5 separate regions of the Homo sapiens genome follow, and regions 1, 2, 3 and 4 are each linked to region 5. Evidence: promoter capture Hi-C in 16 types of primary human blood cells and fetal thymus (Javierre and others, 2016). All regions are on one chromosome and are shown on one strand. Each heading gives the region's core, a stretch centred on a gene start or on the middle of the fragment in contact. The rest is flanking DNA. Distances are from core to core; before and after follow the strand shown. Region 1 has its middle 6.3 kb from the start of ACBD6. Region 2 has its middle 10 kb from the start of OVAAL. Region 3 overlaps ACBD6 (acyl-CoA binding domain containing 6). Region 4 has its middle 28 kb from the start of ZNF648. Region 5 holds the start of IER5 (immediate early response 5).

Region 1 (2,700 bases), core at 50-2,549, 580 kb after region 5:
AGGAATAAAACAATGTCTTTGGCAGCAACTTGTATGGAGCTGGAAGCCATTATTCTAAATGAAGTAACTCAGGAGTGGGAAACCAAAACCTGTATGTTCTCGCTTGTAAGCGGGAGCTAAGCTTTGAGTACATGAAGACATACAGAGTGGTATAATGGAGTTTAGAGACTCAGCAGGGGGAGGGTGGGAATGGGGTTAGAGATAAATAACCACATATTAAGTACAATGTACACTACTTGGGTGACAGGTGCACTAAAGTCTCAGAAGTCACCACTACATTATTCATCCATATAACAAAAAAAATTTATACCTCAAAAGGTATTGATACAAAAATTTTTTAAATGTCAATATTTCACAAAAACCTAAATTGTACTAAACCCAGTGCAGTTACTTTTGTAACGAGGAAAATATTTTGTCTGGTTGCCCTGACTTCAGTTATGCTACTGAAACAGTTATTGTGTCTGCAATTGGTGGGTTCTTGAACTCACTGACTTCAAGAATGAAAACGTGGACCCTCACGGTGAGTGTTACAGTTCTTAAAGATGGTGTGTCGGGAGTTTGTTCCTTCTGATGTTCGGACGTGTTTGGAGTTTCTTCCTTCTGGTGGGTTCGTGATCTCCCTGGCTTCAGGAGTGAAGCTGCAGACCTTGGCGGTGAGTGTTACAGCTCTCAAGGCGGTGCGTCTGGAGTTGTTCATTCCTCCCAGTGGGTTCGTGGTCTTGCTGGCCTCAAGAGTGAAGCTGCAGACCTTCGCCATGAGTGTCACAGCTCACAAAGACAGTGCGGACCCAAACAGTTAGCACCAGCAAGAGTTACTGCAGAGAGCAAAACAACTAAGCTGGAGACCTGAGCGACTTGCCGCAGCTGGCTCTTGGCAGCCTGCTTTTATTCTCTTATCTGGCCCCACCCACATCCTGCTGAGATTGGTCCATTTTACAGAGAGCTGATTGGTCCGTTTTGACAGGGTGCAGATTGGTGCATTTACAATCCCTGAGCTAGACACAAAAGTTCTCCAAGTCCCCCACTAGATTAGCCAGACACAGAGCACTGATTGATGCATTTACAAAGCCTGAGCTAGATACAGACTGCTGATTGGTGCATTCACAAACCTTGAGCTAGACACAGGGTGCTGATTGGTGCATTTACAATCCTCCAGCTAGACATAAAAGTTCTCCAAGTCCCACCTCCCCCCACCAACTCAGGAGGTCAGCCAGCTTCGCCTGGTGGATCCCGTGCCAGGGCAGCGGGCGGAGCTGTTCAACCAGTCCAGCGCTGCGTGCCTGCGGGCTCCTCAGCCCTTGGGCGGTAGATGGGACCGGGTGCTGCGGAGCAGGGGGCGGCACTCGTTGGGGAGGCTAGGGCTGCGCAGGAGCCCATGGCGGGGTGGGGGAAGGCTCGGGCATGGTGGGCTGCAGGTCCTGAGCCCTGTCCTGCAGGGAAGCAGCTGCGGCCCTGTGAGGATCCGAGTGCAGTGCCGGTGGGCCGGTACTGCTGGGGGACCCGGCCCACCCTCTGCAGCTGCTGGCCCAGGTGCTAAGCCGCTCACTGCCCGGGGCCAGTGTTTCCGGTCTGCCGCTCCAAGTGCAGGGCCCACAGATCCCATGCCCTCCTGGAACTCACGCTGGCCTGCGACCGCCACGCGCAGCCCCGGTTCCAGCCTGCTCCTCTCCCTCCACACCTCCCTGCAAGCAGAGGGAGCCGGCTCTAGCCTTGGCCAGCCCAGAGAGGGGCTCCCACAGTGCAGCGGCAGGCTGAAGGGCTCCTCAAGCACTGCCGAGGCCGAGGAGGTGCTGACAGCCAGCCCTCTGTGAGGGCTGCCAGTAGGTCGTCACCTCTCATTATGACTTTTGTTAATTCAGATGTTTAGATCAGTTCAGATGTTATGTTGGGAAGCATTTTACAACAATCACATATTTTTCTCTTTGCATTTCTTCTTGAAATACTTAGAACTGTAGTTTATAATGAATATAAACACTGGAAAATGCCACAACATTGTTGGGTAGTATTCTAATAACATAACATTCAGACCTTCTAGCAAGGTTAATAGAACTACTCAGCATCACTTAAACAAATTGCCAGTTTGAGGACTTATTTTGCTTCTAATTTCTTAGAACATGACTCATAGAATTTTATTTATTATGCATATCATGTCATCAATATTTATTTTACTTGCAAGAATGACTCATTGTTACCAGAAGATGGGGCTGTGAACACCATATGCAACATGGCCACCATCATGAGCCAGACTGATTAGATCTTCACTACTTCTTTCCTGCCTGCTCCTTTTTCTGCTCACTTTAGACTCCATTTGTCAGTGTTTCCTGCCATTGCTTTTCACTTGTTAGCGGGTTTGTTTGAATCAGTGTATGTTGACTGCTAAACTTCAATTCCTGCAGAACTGTAATACTTTCTTTTGACTTCCTGATTTCTTGGCTGATTTTTCTTGGGATTCAAAGAAACATAAACAGTTAAGCTTTGAACAACTCAGCAATAAGGGGATCGACCCCTAAGCAGTCAACTACTGTTGACTGCAAGCCATGCCAAGAACACAAACAGTTGAGTAACACATATTTTGTATATGTATTATGTACTGTCTTCTTGAAATAAAGTAAGCTAGAGAAAAGAAAATGTCATTAAGAAAACCATAAGGAAAATACATTTATAGTAATTATTATTATTGTACTTATTTACCAATACTGT
Region 2 (2,700 bases), core at 69-2,568, 540 kb after region 5:
AGACAGGGTTTCACCATATTGGCCAGGATGGTTTCCATCTCCTGACCTTGTGATCCACCCACCTCGGCCTCCCAAAGTGCTGGGATTAAAGGGGTGAGCCACCACGCCCGGCCAGAACCAATTTTTTACTGTTATCTTTGTTTACTTCACGGTAAGCTTTGCTCCATATTAGCCCCAAGGGAAGGCTGGTTGGGTAGCCCTTTGACTAAAAGTTTTGGATGATGATGGGAAAAGAGTAAAATCACACCATAGCCCAACAAACTCCTTAGAATCCAGTAGCACATATTTCTGTTCTAAACAGTAAGTGGTTGGCCAGCCCTTTGACTGAGCATCTTGCGCTAGCCCTGGCTTCCACCTTACTGGGCTTTGTATCTCTTAATCTCTTCCCTCTCTTTCCTATTTTCCCTGCCAGTTAGCACTCTTATATTGAATCATAGAATTTTAGAGGCTATAGGTGCTTTAGAATTAATTTAATCCAAACCTCTCATTTAATAAATGAGGACACGGAAGTCCTGAGAGGTGGGGCAATTTGCCTGAGACATCTCAGCAAGGCTATGACAGAGCTGGACCTAAAAATGAGGTTTTGCTTCCTAATCTAGGACTCCTGCACAAAGCTGTGCTGTTGCCATGGTTCTGAAACTAGCAAGTCAGACAGATTTGAGGTGCTTATGGATGGATGAATGCACAGCATCAAACAATAGCTCTGTCGATGAAAAGAAAACCTGGCTGATAATTGAAGCCGCTGAACCACAAGCGGGTGAAAGAAGTAAAAGGCTCTGTGGGCTGCTGCCCCACTTGGGAGATTGGGGGAGGAGGGCAGGAGGAGTTGAAAGTGGATGGACAGAGACTTGGGTGAGGCCCTGGCTCCACTGTGTCCCAGATGGATCATGTGGGAAGCCCTTTGGTTGCGTGACACTGTTGTAGGCACCCTGTGGATTTTACATCACCCAAAGCTATAAATGGTTTGCACGAGGGGAAAAAAAAAAAAGAATTACAGGTCTCCCACAGCCCACAAAAATATGCTCCACCTAAAAAGAAGCCCATAATTTGGCTGCATCCAGCCGGGTTAGACAAAATTGGAGCCAAGGTTGCCCTGGATTGTCCTGAGAGGTGGCCTAGCATTAGCAGGAACGAAAGAAATGTGAAATTGCTCACAATGGACTAGATTTTCTTCATAGGCAAAGCTCTAATAGTTACACAGCGAGACCCTTGGCATCAGCCAGGTTAGGTCTACTAGCTACATTAAAATCACTCCAAGCTATTATTTATAATTTCATACCATCTCACATTTGCAAATTGCCTAGTGACTAATTGAGGCAGTTTCTTACAACAATTCTGAGCGTGAGGTTCAGATTTTAACCCTTCTTTTACTAAGACACAAATAAATTGAGACAAATAATATACATCAACCATAAAAATACCTGAACAGTCTATTCATTTTGGCCATGGCCTGAGTTCTGTGACTTGGCCTGCTCTTGGGTGACCAAATGTTCCAGTTTGCCTGGGACCAAGGTGTTTCCTGGGATGTGGGACTTACAGTGCTAAAACCCAGACAGTACTGGGAAAACTGAGGCAATTGGTCACCTTAAACCCTGTGCATGGCACTAATACTTGGCAATTTCTATCTGCATATCTTAAATGAATATGGGTCTATATTTTTTTATCCTAATCTGTCTTATATGGCTGTGTTTAAGAAGGCAGAGCCTGAAACTGGGTTTTTTGCTGCCTTAAAATCCCTTAGGCCGGGCGCAGTGGTTCATGCCTGTAATCCCAGCACTTTGGGAGGCTGAGGCGGGTGGATCACCTAAGGTCAGGAGTTTGACACCAGCCTGGCCAACGTGGTGAAACCCCTTTTCTACTAAAAATACAAAAATTCCCCAGGCATGGTGGCACACGTCTGTAATCCCAGCTACTCGGGAGGCTGAGGCAGGAGAATCGCTTGAACCCGGGAGGCGGAGGTTGCAGTGAGCCGAGATCACACAACTGCACTCCAGGCTGGGTGACAGAGCAAGACTCCACCTCAAAAAAAAATCCCTTAAAAATAGTATTTACTAGTTGATTGTTTGTTGTTGCTTCATTTGAGGGTATTCAGATGCCTGCTACTGACCTCTGAAATGCTTTTGGTACTGTGTGTCAACAAAATGGCTTGAAGAAAAATGCAAGTAAGAGAATATGATTCTATTTTTATATTAAGTAATCCAACCTGGATACCATTCTCTGTCTCCTAGAATACCTTAGCCAAAAGTCACACTTTATATCTGAGATATTTTCTTTGACAGAAAAACGTTTAAACTTATACAATTCAGATGGCCACCAGTATAGATATAAAGAAACAATTTACCTCTGGCCAAGAAACCCCTTGAGTCAAAATCGTTTCCAGCTGGAATCGCAGACTATTTTATCACTAGCCAAGAGGAGATGAAAGGGCCATGCATGCCAACATTGTTATTAGTGGGATGCCATCAATTGGATAAAGCTTTCATTAGCATTACAGGATTGAAAATCCAAAAGGGTCTCAGTGAGGCAGTCACTGGAAAGGCCTAGTGGTGTGAGGCCTCAGGTCAATGGGCAAGCAGGCTCCAAACACACAGCAGGTAACAGTGAAAAAATCAGAGTGGGCTTTATCTGCAGAATTCTATTCTTAACACACTCATTCCATTGCCCTCTGGTGGGAGATAGCATGACCTATTTAAAGAAGGT
Region 3 (2,700 bases), core at 28-2,527, 600 kb after region 5:
ACTGTAGGTAAGGAAACAATTAGACAAATTCAAATTGAGGGATATGTTATAAAACAGTTGGACTCTTAAAAAATACCAACAATGTGGAAGACAAAAAAGCTGAAGATACATGAAACTCAATGCTGTGTGTGGATCTTGATTGGTTCCTGGTGTGGGAGAAGAAAGCCATAAAGGACATTATTGGGACAATCAGGAAAATCTGAATGTATAGCCTCTATATTGTATAATAGTAATTGATGATAAATTTCCTGAGTTTGTGTAAGCTGATCTATTTAGGGATGAAGTGTTATGATGCGTATAAGTAATTCTTAAGGAATTCAGTGAAAATAAATTTAGAAAACCTCAGAAAGATATTATATTCATCATAGAAGCAGGAAGGTAGTGAAAAAATGTGGGATTGAGTTCTGTTTGACAGCAAATCAGGGAAATCGAGAAACACTGGTTGGAATTTAGAAAGAATTGGCAGGGAAAAACCAAGAAGAAGGCCTGTCCTGGCAGCCTGTTGTGGGGGCAGGGGGGTAGATGACCCAAAAGGAAGCTCAGGACTAAAATGTTGCTTTTGCCATTTATATTGTAGGAAGTCCCTAACTTACTCATTAGTATTCTTTAGTTGCTGTTGTTGTTTTTTTTTTTTTTTTTTTTTTTTTTTTTTTGAGACAGAATTTTGCTCTGTTGCCCAGGCTGGAGTGTGGTGGTGCCATCTCAGCTTACTGCAACCTCTGCCTCCCAGGTTCAAGCAATTCTCCTGCCTCGGCCTCCAGAGTAGCTGGACTACAGGCGCACACCACCACGCCTGGCTAATTTTTGTATCTTTAGTAGAGATGGGGTTTCACCATGTTGGCCAGGCTGGTCTCAAACTCCTGACCTCAGGTGGTCCACCTGCCTCAGCCTCCCAAAGTGCTGGGATTACAGGCGTGAGCCACCAAGCCTGGCCAGTATTCTTATTTCTGCCCTCACCATCCCTTACTTTTGAAGTCCCAGACTAAGTCCCCAGGATCAGTTACTAGAAGCTTATAGATGAGATAACAGCAGAAAGGGAAGGTGGATTTCTTGTATCTTAGTAAGAAGTTTGATGCATTTTCCTTGGGAATATTGTTTTTTATGTGATGATTAGTTTCTGTACGACCAAAATGCCATAAGCACAGTTAATTTATGAGAATAATCTCTATTAGTCTGTAGATCATATATCCTCAATAGGGGTGAAATTTTGTTTGAGGAAATTATAAAATCTTAGATTACAGTGGTTTGTGGTCTTTCAAAATTTAATAGCTATGCATTGTATCTGTGTTTTTAAAATTTCACGGGGAGGACGATTAGGAAAAAAAATGTCTGAAAAGACTGCTTAGGTAGGGCAATAAGGTCTGTATAGCTCTAGACCAATGTAAATGCAAAAAGACAGAGCTTCTCTATCCATAGCTTATTATCTCTATATTCAGAGACCCTTGAAATGTGCATACAGTTTTTTTAATAATAAGAAAAATGCTGTTTGTGTTATTTGCATAATGACAGGCCATTTTGGATATTCCATATTGTAGGGAAGCTTGGAAAGCACTTGGTGATTCAAGCCCCAGCCAAGCAATGCAGGAATATATCGCAGTAGTTAAAAAACTAGATCCAGGTTGGAATCCTCAGGTAAGACTTAATGATTATAAATAATACTTTCCAAAAACTTATGATCCTTCTCTGAAATAAATGTCTAAAACTAAACTTAGTTTTAAGTAACATGCTTAAAGTTTTACTTTCTTGAAATATTTTAAAGTTATTGTAATATTTATCTAATAAAATAATTGCTGGCCAGGTGTGGTGGCTCATACCTGTAATCCCAGCACTCTGGGAGGCCAAGCCAGGTGGTTCACCTGAGGTAAGAGTTCAAGACCGGCCTGGCCAGCATGGTGAAATCTCATCTCTACTAAAAATACAAAAATTAGCTGGACGTGGTGGTACACACCTGTAATCCCAGCTACTCAGGAAGCTGAGGCAGGGGAATCAATTGAACCTGGGAGGCTGAGGCTGCAGTGAGCCAAAATCAGGCCACTGCACTCCAGCCTGGGTGACAGTGTGAGACTCCATCTCAGAAAAATGAAAAAAATTAATAATAATTACTTAAATAGTAATATAACCAGCTACTGATGCTGAGAACTTCTCTGAGTTGCAGAGTTTTTGAAAGCAGAAAAATTTGAATTACATAAGAATTGGAAAGAGTTTAACTTGAGATTATCATGCTGGAAAAAAGGTTACTCTTGGATTTCGTTTTTATGATCACTTTCTATGCAAGGGCAAAATGCTTATTAGGGATAAAAGATGAATAAGACATGATTTCTGCCATTATGTAGTTTAAAGTGTAATAGAGAAGATAAAACATATCAAAATATATATCTTTAATAGTATAAAACAATAATAATGTAAATGCTAGGGAATCCAGCAGGAAAAGGGATTGCTTTGGACTTTGGAAGCATTGGATATTGTTCACTTAAATATACCCTGTTTTTCTCATATACTTATTGGAGAACATCTAGAAAGAATTTAATAAAGGTGAGGTTACTATTTAAGAATATTGTTAAATGATTAACAGGTATTTCAGTGAGATAGAGGTTGCATTGTACCATGTAAAAAATGCAAATTGAATTTTTTTCAATAAAAATATTAAGGCCAAACATTTTAGCAGTTAATGAATTAAACAATTTTCAGTGTTTTTGTAAT
Region 4 (2,700 bases), core at 55-2,554, 940 kb before region 5:
ATAAAATGTTAAAAGTACATATTTACATCAAGTGTTGGTAAGGATGTGGAGAAATGGAAATTTTCATACTCTGATAAAAGGAATGCAAATTATTGGTACAGTTCTTGGAGAGTAATATAATGATGTTTAATATTACATTGATATAATACTATTAATACAGTATGATGATGATGATATGATAGTAGTATCAGTAATCATCAATATATCTATACCTTATACCTTAGCAATTCAAATGGGATATGGGAAGAAAATAGTAGAATTTTGTACTTATCTTTTAAGAAAAAATTTACATTTGATAATGGGTATTACATGTTAATACAATAGGACATTTATATAATTTATAAATAGAGACATATTGAGGATAAGCAGTTAAGCTTTTTTATTGATGAGGCAACACAATCAGCATAGCAGGAGACCACTCCCCCTTAAGAAATTTAAGTATACATGAGGAGATTATAAATATATGTAAGAATATTAATTGCAGCATAATTTGTAATGGCAAAACTTTGGAAACATTTTAAATATTCATCAGTAAAAGAATACATAAATCAATTGTGTTTTATTAATATAATGGGATGTTAAATAGCAGTTAAGATGAATGAAGCGAAGCTGTAAGTACAGGTTTAGAAAATGTTGAGTGAAAAAACCAAGTCACAGAACCATAAGTCTATTCATATAAATTGTCTTATTCATTTGGCTGTTCCAACAAAGTACCATAAACTGGATGGCTTATAAACAACAGAAATTTATTTCTCACAATTCTGAAGGCTTGGAAGTCTAAGATCAGGGCACCAGCAGAGTCAGGGTCTGGTGAAGGTCCTCTTCCAGGTTGCAGACTGCTGCTGACTTCTAATTGGATCATGACACGGCAGAAGGAGAGCTAGCAGTTCTTGGACCTCTTCTTATAAAAGGCACTAATTTCAATCATGAGGCTCCACCCTTATGACCTGATCACCTCCCACAGGCCCCACCTTCAAATATTATCCCACCGGGATTAGGATTTCAACATATGCATTTTAGGGTGGACACTTTCAGTCCATTGCATAAATTTGGGCACAGAGAAAGACATGAATAGAAGGATAACAACGTGGAGAGACATAGGGAGAAGATGGCCATTAACAAAGCCAAGGGGGAGAGGCCTGGAACAGACTCCCCCTCACAGCCCTTAAAAGGAACCAACTTTTAAGACACCTTGATATCAGACTTCTAGCCTCCAGAACTGAGAGGTGAAATTTTTATTAAGTCATCCAGCTTATAGTACTTTATTATTACAGCCCTAGCAAACTAATACAACATTTATAACTTGGCAATTTTGTTATTTTTTTAAAAAGTATGTTTTCAACCAGAGGGAAAAAACCCTTCTTCCCTCAAAAATGTAAAATGAGGAACTAGAAGGGGTGAAGCTGATCTGCTATTTAATAGAATATCTTTATATATTTTAATAGTAAAGTTAAAATTTTGATCTGTTATCAAAGAGGTTTTTGTTTAATAAACCTGGTGGGTCAGTCTCATGGAGCAAGGGAAAACAATTCCCATGTGCTCAGAAGAGCATTTTGTAATTTCCTAATTAGGGATAAGAAAGACAATTCCCAAGTTTCCTTCAGAAAAGACTGGGGCAATAAACATAATTAACTCTAAGAGGTTTAATAATAAATCACCAAATCTCATGAGCATAATAAATACAACTAGGGAAGTATTTTAATATAGTCTCAATATAATAATCACAAATTCAACTTCAGAACAGTGTGAATTACAAATATAATGTGGATATTTTCTTGGCATAGATCTCAGGCCATGCTATTTTTAAGGTCATTTGTTATTGGAAGCAGAAGGGGCATGATAATATGTAACCTTAGTCCTGCTGACAGAATTTCAGCAAGAGTAACAATGTCCTCCTGCAAACTCTTGATGATACCTTGCTAGAGAAAAAATATGAAGCTGAATAAAGCACAGAATATGAATATGGCCCATGAGAAAACTTCTTTAAGACCACCTGTAGAATTCTGCAATCACATACGCAGGTTTTCTTGTTAGCAACATGCTGGTCTCTCTAATTCCCAATAGCATCTTGCTGTGATATTGTGAGCCTTTAGCATTTTGAATCTCTTGTCCTCACATGTTCAGAACAGTGCCCGGGATATGCCTTTGATAGGTGTCAACTGATGAATAAGGTGAGACAAACAGTTTGATATGAATCCATATTTATTGGATCTCATAAACCCAAAGCAAGCTTACTGACAAGTACAGCAGATGGGGTCAGGGTGGGGGCAGGAGGGTTGCTTTGTTGCCCAGGCTGGAGTGCAGTGGTGTGATCACAGCTCACTGCAGCCTCAAACTCCTGGGCTCAAGCAATCCTCCCTAGTAAGTCTATCGAGTTGCTGGGATTACAGGCATCAGCCACCATGCCCAACCAATCAGGTGATTCCTCTCCTCTGCTTCTGTGTTGGGCCTATAAAAGTCCATTGCTCACACTGTGCAGCACTCTGAACTTTTGGTTCTCAGTGATGCATGATTCCTGAGTCATTCTTTGCTCAAATAAACTGGTAAATTTAATTTGTCTAAAGTTTTTCTTTTAACACATGTAAAGTATTATTACAGAAAAAAGTGTAACTATTAAAACAGTGTTTTCAAGGACCAAAAGCACAGAAGTCAATTAGTTTAGGCAACAACAATAAAATACTTTAGACAACTTTTTTTTTT
Region 5 (2,700 bases), core at 4-2,503:
AAGGGCCTGGCCCTCACTTCGGGGACGCCCGCTGCTCCACCTCCTCCCCGCAGGGGGGCCAAGGGCTCAGAAGGCCACGATGGCTGTGCTCCAGGGGTTCATGTCTCTCAGCACCGGCTTATCGCAGCAGATCTGCCCGGGCTCGGCGGCTTCCGGACCGCTCTCCTCTCCCTCCTCTTCCTCTCTGCCGCCCCCGGGGCTTTTCCGTAGGAGTCCCGAGAAACTGGAACCGAAGATGCTGATGAGGTTAGCCACGTTCCCGGTCTCCATCTCCTCCGCGTCGTCGTCCTCTCCTCCACTCGGCGGCTGCTCTAAGTTCCGGCGGGGCTTCTTGAGCGGGGTCGAGCCGGGCGCCGGGCAGCCCGCTGGGCCGCCGCCCACCCCCGCCGCGCAGCGCTTCCTGGGGCACACCGCGGGCGGCGCGGGGGGCTCGTCCTCCGCTGGTTGCGGCGCGCAGCAGCAGGCAGCGCGGGGGGTCGCGGCCGGTGTACCCGGCGGGTCCTCCCCGCCTAGGGGGCAGCCGCAGGGGCGGCGCGCGGCACGAGATACCTCGGGGAAGACGCCCCAGCCTCCGGCGGTACCCTCGGCTTCTCTGGCCGCCGCCTGGCGCGGCCCCTCCACGCGGCTCCAGGCAGCTTCCGTCGCGTCCGCCTCTCCGCCCTGAAAAACGTCCCCGACTCCAGTCACCGTGGCCACCGGCACCTCGTCCCCTACCCGCGGCGCGTCTGAGACGGAGGAGCGCTCCGGCTGCGGCTCGGTCTCCGGCCAAGAGGCACGAGCGGCGGGCGGGGGCGGCTCTCCCCAGCCGGCGGGTGGCCCGGCCGCCGGCTCCCCGGGCTGCTGCTGCGGTGGCGGCGCCGGGGTCCCAGCGGGACCGGCCAGGTAGAGGCCGGGGCACGGGTCGCTCAGGTAGACTTGGCGGGCGCTGCGCAGCACCAGCGAGACCAGGAGGTTCTTATGCAGCTTGATGCCGCCGCGCTGGACCCGCGAGTTGTAGATCTTGCCCAGAGAGATGCTGACGATGCGATGAGCCTCCAGCTTGAACTCCATCTGCTTCCCCTGCACAGGGCCGTCGGCGCCGGGGTGACACGTTTGGAAATTGGGAGGGAACGGGAGGCGCAAACAAGTCCGCCCCCTGGGCACACCCTCGATCACCTAAGACTCCGAAGAGAAACGACTCTGGTGACGCGCGCGCTGCTCTACTAACCTCTCCAAACAAGACAACTTCCCCGTTTCGGGTCCGGTCGCTAAACAGGGCAGCCTGGCTGCCCCGCGCCTTATATAGGCTTCTCGACCGCCAATCACGAAGGGCCGCCAACCGTTCCGGGGCTGGCCGGCGCGCCCTCGTGCGCCGCGCACGGCCAATCGGAGCCCGAGGAGGGGCGCCAGGGCCCGTTCGAACGTTAGTCCCGCGGAGCAGGCTCTTAAAGGGGGCGACGGCTTGCGGCCGCAGACCAGGCCCGTGGGGAGTGAATGTTCGGGACGGTGCTCGAGAGCGCTACTGTTTGGAGTTACAGATTCTGGCTTGTGCGATGGCTTGCCGGAACCAAAGCGAACAAAATATTCGAACTTTCTTCCGAACACGGTGGTGGACTCTGTTCTGCCATAAAGTCCTGATCCTTCCCTGATCGACTCCGCCCTCACCAGCCACACCACCGTTTCCAGGCCGGCCACACCTGTAAGCGACCCCCCTCAACCCTGGCAAAAATAGAGATGGTGGCCATACGCGGCGGAGGACACCCCTGGATAACAAATAGTATTACTGCAAAGTATTTGGCAATCATTATTTTTGGATGAGCCGCTTTCCCCGCTAGAGTCACATACACTCTTAGCAGCTGTCAGTTCTAACCCCAAAGAAAAGGGGGATTCTAAAAGTTTTTGCCTAGGTTTTTGGCTTCTTTTCAAGGAATCGTGTCTAGATACAAAGTTATTGGTTGTCCTCTAAAGCTGGCATCTTTCACTTTGTTCTCTAGATTCTAGAACAAACCCAGTTATCAAATAAGTTAAATGGAAGATGTTACAGGTTCTCCACAATGATTTTTTTTTCCTTTTTTTTTTCCATTTCCATTTTTCCATTACAAGGACTGACCAGTCCACCCTTGGAAAAATCGAGCAAGTTCTGAAAATAAAAAGAAAGAAGTCCTGTGTTCCCATGATGATGTCATAATTTCATTTCGTGTCAAGGTAAAAATATAGTGCTAGGGAGTTCCAGAATTTTCTGGTCAGTCAACAACTTAGTCCATCTACTGGTCCTTATAAGTATATCAGGACACAATTACCACGGGGTTGCCCAGGGTCCTGGACTGGAAACATGGAGTCACTTCCAGTTAGTTCCACCGAAGCTCCACCACAGACCTGCCTGAGGACTCTGGGTAAATAACCTCAGGCCGCTTCAGTGTCTCCACTGCTGAAAAGGGGGAAGTCACATACACATCTGCGTTATTGTACAGACGATAAATGACAACTTCTCAGCCACAATCTGAATGAGAAAACTAAGCACTGCTTTCTTGGAGTCCATGTGGAACCCTGGGCCTGATCCTGCCCCGGGGTTGGTCAAGCAATGAATTTATTTAGGAAAAATACCAGTGAAGAGTGGGCTTGATCATGACCAATTCACAATCTCCAGAGGATGTGATGGCTCAATAGCATTACCTGTGCCCACAACTGATGGTAACTGAGACAGCAGGCTCTGAGACCCAG

Evidence for each region. The method cuts DNA at HindIII sites, captures the fragments that hold promoters and counts their contacts. A CHiCAGO score of 5 or more calls a contact.
Region 1: a contact is called between a fragment that was not itself captured here and the fragment with the promoter of IER5 in region 5, in 4 of 17 cell types (fetal thymus, megakaryocytes, activated CD4 T cells and 1 more). The highest score is 7.7, in fetal thymus.
Region 2: a contact is called between a fragment that was not itself captured here and the fragment with the promoter of IER5 in region 5, in 1 of 17 cell types (naive B cells). The highest score is 6.0, in naive B cells.
Region 3: a fragment that was not itself captured here is called in contact with the fragment with the promoter of IER5 in region 5 in 1 of 17 cell types (naive B cells); the score reaches 6.0 in naive B cells.
Region 4: a contact is called between a fragment that was not itself captured here and the fragment with the promoter of IER5 in region 5, in 1 of 17 cell types (non-activated CD4 T cells). The highest score is 6.3, in non-activated CD4 T cells.

What each region holds. Positions count from the first base shown.
Region 1 is chr1:180,507,571-180,510,270 of GRCh38, reverse strand. No RefSeq gene overlaps it. Among named protein-coding and RNA genes, the nearest start is that of ACBD6, 6.3 kb to the right of the region's middle. The HindIII fragment of the contact is 2,352 bases long and covers 124-2,475 here.
Region 2 is chr1:180,547,131-180,549,830 of GRCh38, reverse strand. No RefSeq gene overlaps it. Among named protein-coding and RNA genes, the nearest start is that of OVAAL, 10 kb to the left of the region's middle. The HindIII fragment of the contact is 2,320 bases long and covers 159-2,478 here.
Region 3 is chr1:180,491,201-180,493,900 of GRCh38, reverse strand. ACBD6 (acyl-CoA binding domain containing 6) reads left to right here. Exons shown (of 8, transcript NM_032360.4): 3 at 1,536-1,632. Among named protein-coding and RNA genes, the nearest start is that of ACBD6, 10 kb to the left of the region's middle. The HindIII fragment of the contact is 530 bases long and covers 1,013-1,542 here.
Region 4 is chr1:182,032,204-182,034,903 of GRCh38, reverse strand. No RefSeq gene overlaps it. Among named protein-coding and RNA genes, the nearest start is that of ZNF648, 28 kb to the left of the region's middle. The HindIII fragment of the contact is 1,856 bases long and covers 377-2,232 here.
Region 5 is chr1:181,087,253-181,089,952 of GRCh38, reverse strand. It overlaps IER5 (immediate early response 5), which reads right to left and starts at 1,253. Exons shown (of 1, transcript NM_016545.5): 1 at 1-1,253. The coding sequence starts at 1,050. The coding sequence ends at 67. LOC124904465 (a long non-coding RNA gene) reads left to right here and starts at 1,452. Exons shown (of 2, transcript XR_007066762.1): 1 at 1,452-1,678; 2 at 2,083-2,156. RefSeq lists silencers at 315-534, 735-894, 1,205-1,474. The HindIII fragment of the contact is 13,735 bases long and covers 1-2,700 here.